Linked DNA regions of Homo sapiens: region 1 is linked to region 2. The links are contacts of gene promoters, found by promoter capture Hi-C in blood cells and fetal thymus (Javierre and others, 2016). All regions are on one chromosome and are shown on one strand. Each heading gives the region's core, a stretch centred on a gene start or on the middle of the fragment in contact. The rest is flanking DNA. Distances are from core to core; before and after follow the strand shown. Region 1 overlaps KIAA1328. Region 2 holds the start of PIK3C3 (phosphatidylinositol 3-kinase catalytic subunit type 3).

The links. Contacts are between HindIII fragments. The CHiCAGO score rates a contact against its expected background, and 5 or more counts as called.
Region 1: a contact is called between a fragment that was not itself captured here and the fragment with the promoter of PIK3C3 in region 2, in 1 of 17 cell types (non-activated CD4 T cells). The highest score is 8.0, in non-activated CD4 T cells.

Annotation. Positions count from the first base shown.
Region 1 is chr18:36,838,913-36,841,612 of GRCh38, reverse strand. The region is part of intron 3 of KIAA1328; the gene reads right to left. Among named protein-coding and RNA genes, the nearest start is that of KIAA1328, 11 kb to the right of the region's middle. The HindIII fragment of the contact is 1,202 bases long and covers 706-1,907 here.
Region 2 is chr18:41,953,630-41,956,502 of GRCh38, reverse strand. PIK3C3 (phosphatidylinositol 3-kinase catalytic subunit type 3) reads right to left here and starts at 1,269. Exons shown (of 25, transcript NM_002647.4): 1 at 1,144-1,269. The coding sequence starts at 1,211. RefSeq lists an enhancer at 1,312-1,491. The HindIII fragment of the contact is 3,603 bases long and covers 1-2,532 here.

The DNA.
Region 1 (2,700 bases), core at 57-2,556, 5.1 Mb after region 2:
TGTCCAATTTATAGAAAAAGTCGGCGAACCCCGATATGGAAAAACAAAAGAATTATAAAGTTCAGGATACGAATTACCAAAGAAGAAAACATGATGAGGAAAGGCCACATATCTACAGTCACTTGACTTACAACAATGGTATCATTGCAATTCAAAGAAGAAAAGAATCCTCTTCCCAGTAGATGGTGTTGGGCCAATACTGACAGTCTATTGACCCAATACTGGCAGTCTATGGGCCCAACACCATCTATTGGGAAGAGGATTCTTTTCTCTCTGAATTGCAGTGAATCTTACTTTACACTACATGTGCATATTACTTCCTGATGAATAGTAGGCTTAACTGTAAAAAATAAAGCAATATGGCCACAAAAGAGAGAGGGAACTTGCTGCAGAGTATAATCAGCTAACAGCCTCCAGTTGCCAAACCTTTGGGATCCACTGCACTGTTCATACCAACACCAATGACTGGGAACAGTAGAGACACTAGAACTGAGCTATTTCTGATCCAAATGGCATCCTCAAAAGGCAGTATTTGCTCTGGGGTTCCTCACTAGCAAAAAGGACACTTATCTCAGATTGCATGGCAATCTGAAGTCTGAGGTTCTTCCTAGTCAATCTTCCTTCTTTTCCTCTCCTGTCACAGGTGCCAGACTGTAGTGAAATCTGAAGATTCCTGCTCATTCTACTCTTTATGCTTTATAAGCTTTTCCTTCATTAAATCTCTTCCATTTCTAATTCCATCTCGCGGTCTGCTTCCCAGAAGACTTGAACTGACCTAATTACCACTGTGAAATCCTTAATGAATTAAGGATACTCAACATCAATACCAACAAAGACTACACAGAGAAAAAAATCACAAGATGGCTGGGCACAGTGGCTCATGCCTATAATCCCAGCACTTTCGGAGGCCGAGGTGGGTGGATCACGAGGTCAGGAGTTCAAGACCAGCCTGGTCAACATAGTGAAACCCCATCTCTGTTTATACAAAAATCATCTGGGCATGGTAGTGCGTTCCTGTAATCCCAGCTAGTTGAGAGGCTGAGGCATGAGAATTTCTTGAACCAGAACCCAGGAGGCAGAGGTTGCAGTGAGCCGAGACCATGCCACTGTACCTGGGCTACAGAGCCAGACTCTGTCAAAAAAAAAAAAAAAAATCACAAGACATGCTCTTCAATGGAAAAAAGGAAAAGAAAAAGCAAACCACCATTTCTAGTTTTAAGAAAAAGCACACATAGACACATATACCCCCGACAATGTAGGACATCCTCTTCTAGCCCAGATGGAGTAACAGGGACCAGATTTACCCTAGTTTCAGAAAACAAAACAAAACAAAAACCTGACAAAAAAACAGGAAACAATAGTTTTCATTGGATAGCAGGCAACACAGAATGATCACTGGAATTGCAGAAACAAACAAGGCGAGCCCTACAACTGTCCCAGCTAACTGCTGTGGAGAGTTTTCAGGGCTAAGGTAGGTAAATCCAGACAGAGCCCAGCAATCTCCCTGAGTTGAAAAGATACAGCTGGGAGTCCAGGAAAGCCAAGGTTTCTAGTGTTTGCAGAAACACTAGAAACCTTGCAGGGCAAAGTAATGCCAAGGATAGAGCTGCATAGGAGAGCTCCAGGGATCTGCAGAATCCCTTCGCGTCAACTACTGAGCACTGACCAGCATATGTATGTGAGAAAACTACTCATCCCGGGGAAAGAGCCCAAAATGAACAGTGGAAACAATTTCTGTAGCTAATACAGCATAGGAGAACAGTCTGTTCCCACCAGCCAGAGGGGAAAACCTTGTAATTTAAGGGGCATCAGGAAGAGTATTCAAAAGAGTATGGCCTACAATGGGCAAAATTACCCCTATACTAAAAGCTGCTCTGGCACCACCTTTAAAAGCTCAAAATGAAGCTTGGAAAGAATCAAATTGCTTCCAAATAATTTATCACTGTCTCAGAACCCAAAAAGGCAAAATGCATACTGTCTTGTGACATCCAATAAAAGACAACCAAGCAGGCAAAGAAGCAGAAAAATACAGCCTATAATTAGGAGAAAAATTGCTCAATTGAAACCTATCCACAAATGACTTGGATGATAGAATTCATAGTCAAGAATATTGAAACAGTTATTATAACTATGTTCCATATGTTCAAGAACCTAGAAGAAAGCATGTCAAGTAGCGACATGGAAGATGTAAACAAAAATAAGAGACTGAAACTGAACTTCTAAAGATAAAACTACATTGTTTCATATGAAAAACACACTGGATGAGATTAGTGGCAGATTAGACATTGCAGAAGGTTAATGAATTTGAAGACATAGCAACAGCAATACAAACTATCCAAGGATAAACAAAAAAATTTTTTAATGAAAAAAATATGAACAGAGGATCAGAGAGCTGAGAGGGTAACTTCAAGAGGCCTAGTATTTGTGCAACTAAGGTCACTAGAAAGAGAGGGAAACAAAAATATCTGGAGAAACAATGGCTGAAACATTTCCCAATTTGATGAAAACTATAAACCCACAGTCCCAAAAAGCTCAACAAACCTCAAACAAAAGAGATACTTTAAAAATTACTCCAAGGTAGGATGGGCATGGTGGCTCACACCTGTAATCCCAGCACTTTGGGAGGCCGAGGCGGGCAGATAATGAGGTCAGGAGTTCGAGACCAGCCTGACCAACATGGTGAAACCCCATCTCTACTAA
Region 2 (2,873 bases), core at 20-2,519:
TTCAAAAAATGCATTCATATATCCAAGAAATACTGAGCATCAAGCTGAAGGAAAGCCCTTTATCAATATTGATCCTGTATAAACTACTAGTGGTGTATGCTATGGAAAATACCTTAAATGAGTGTATAAAGTATCATACAAAGGTACAAGGTGGTTGTTGACATATTACTTTTACCACCACCACCACAAACTAAAAAGTAAAGTATTTGTCAGCGAATAAGGGACTTCTGAAAATAAAATGAAATGATCATTCAAAGGTACATCAGACAACTGAGAAAATTTATCTATCACTTACTGCAGGCCTTTGACCGACACATATTTGTTGAATATTAATTGAACATACACAAGAAATGTTTATTAATTATGGATGATGCTATGGTCAATAATTTGTGATAGCTTTGACAACACTCCTACATGACCACCTTAAAAGGGACATAATTTCCAACTCTGTCTTGTGCATCCCTCGTCATTATACCAGTTCTATTATCCTCATCTCAAGATATCACGCCCTTGACCTTTACTTCAGCCGTGGTGCCCCAACGTTTTCCTGCAAAGACTCTTTTCTCCTATCTTCTTGGTACCTTTGAAACTGGAACCCTCATCTTCGACTTACTCCCAACTTCCCTGACTAAACACTGCCATACTACCCAAAGATTCACTCTAGGCCTCTATCACCTCCCGTGCTAATACACCATGTGCTCATCTTATTCTCAACTATCGCATCTGCCTGTGTCTACCTCTCCATAATTTCTGAAGCCTTCATTCCACCCTACAAGCCCCGTTCCAAAATAAAGATCGTCCTCTTACTTACGACGAGACTTGATTTCTTAATTTACAATGAAATAGTAATAAACTCTCAAAAGGCTGAACAGCAAAAACTTTAAAGACTGTAAAATACAGCGGAACTTAAGGGCTATTCCTACTGCTGTGCTTCTCACGGAGACCACGTATTAAATCCTTTTCCAAAAGAGCCCCTCTCCACGATCCACTCTCTCGCGCCTCCCTGGCTACAGCCCTCACAGCCGCCCCCAATCTGGGCCTTGAGACGAGTCACGTACTTTCTGCCTCTCACTCCCAACAGGCCCCTGCCCCCACGTCCCTACGCCCCAGCAATCCCACTCCCTGTCCCGAGTGTTCTCTTACATCTTAAGCTGGACGTTGATATCCAGGTCACAACTATAGATGTAGTGAAACTTCTCTGCTTCCCCCATCGCACCGTCTGCAAAGGTACCACCTACAGCGGGAACTTAGGTACAGGAAAAACAACATAAATGAACCAGCTGAGCCCCACAACACGGAACTTCCGGTTCCGCCCCCGCCAGCAAGCCGCCAATCCACGCCCGGAGCGAGTTCCGACGCGGCGGAACTCCCCGCCGAAACAACCCTTCCGCGCATGTGCACAAGGCGCCCACCATCTTGCTTAAGGGCAAATGTATACGGGAAACGGCTAATCTGGTTACATTCCAGTTTTCCTGTCTTGACAGCACTTTTTTTTTTTTTTAAAGAAAAAGAGACGCTATCATTTGAGCTTGAGCTGTACCTAAAACAATACGAAAGAAAATTCAATTCAAAAAGAATTATAACAGCTTTCACTGGCTGCCGGCTAAACAGGTTACAAGCACAAAAATTGGAATTTTGCCAGGTTTAAATTCCAGTGGCCTTCCCAAAAAGTGTAGCACTAATTTGCTATCTCAAGCAAGGATTTTCTCTTTCTGCTCTAAAGAGTAGGGAAAGGACTAAATAGAGAATAAATAAATCTGGGTTTCATGTTTGGTGTTGTCAGTATTCATGCTACTTTGGACATAATACTTGCGTGCATGTTTAAACTGGGAATATTCAAATTCAATGTAGTTTCAAGCCCTAACCCAAGTTAGAATCTAGAGGCCTCCTGTAATAACTACAGAACACAGATCTCTAAACCCTCTGAGCTCCTATAATGTTTGTTTTTATAATTATTATAATCTAAAATTGTAATACTCCCTTCCAATTAGATTGAAAACTCTTGGAAGGTAAGACCAGTGTGCCATTTACTTCCGTGTCTTGCCCCGCTAGCTGTCTAATGCATTGCTGAGTTTAATACTTCCTACTTACTGGTTATTAATGATGATATTGAATGAAAGTCTCCATTTTCTATGCCTTTATTTCTTTTTTTTTTTTTTTTTTGAGATGGAGTTTTGCTATTGTCGCCCAGGCTGGCACCATCTCGGCTCACTGCAACCTCCATCTCCTGGGTTCAAGCGATTCTCCTGCATCAGCCTCCCAAGTAGCTGGGATTACAGGCACCCGCCACCCAGTCAGGCTAATTTTTGTATTTTTAATAGAGATGGGGTTTCACCATGTTGGCCAGTCGGGTCTCAAACTCCTAACCTCCAGTGATCTGCCTGCCCTGGCCTCCCAAACTGCTATGTCATTTCTTTTTTTTTTTTTTTTTTTTTTTTTGAGACAGAGTCGCTCTGTTGCCCAGGCTGGAGTGCCCGTCTCTCTGTTGCCCAGGCTGGAGTGCAGTGGCGCGATCTCGGCTCACTGCAAGCTTCACCTCCCAGGTTCATGCCATTCTCCTGCCTCAGCCCCCCAAGTAGCTGGGACTTCAGGTGCCCGCCGTCACGCGCGGCTAATTTTTTGTATTTTTTAGTAGAGTCAGGGTTTCACCGTGTTAGCCAGGATGGTCTCGATTTCCTGACCTCGTGATCCGCCCTCCTCGGCCTCCCAAAGTGCTGGGATTACAGGCGTGAGCCACCTCGCCCAGCCTATGTCTTTATTTCTAAGTGCTGCATTTTAAGACGGACATCACTAAAGTATGTGCAAAATGGCGTAATTAGAATGTTGAGGGATTAGAAAAAAAATATTTCCAAGAAAGGGTGAAAGGTGTGGAG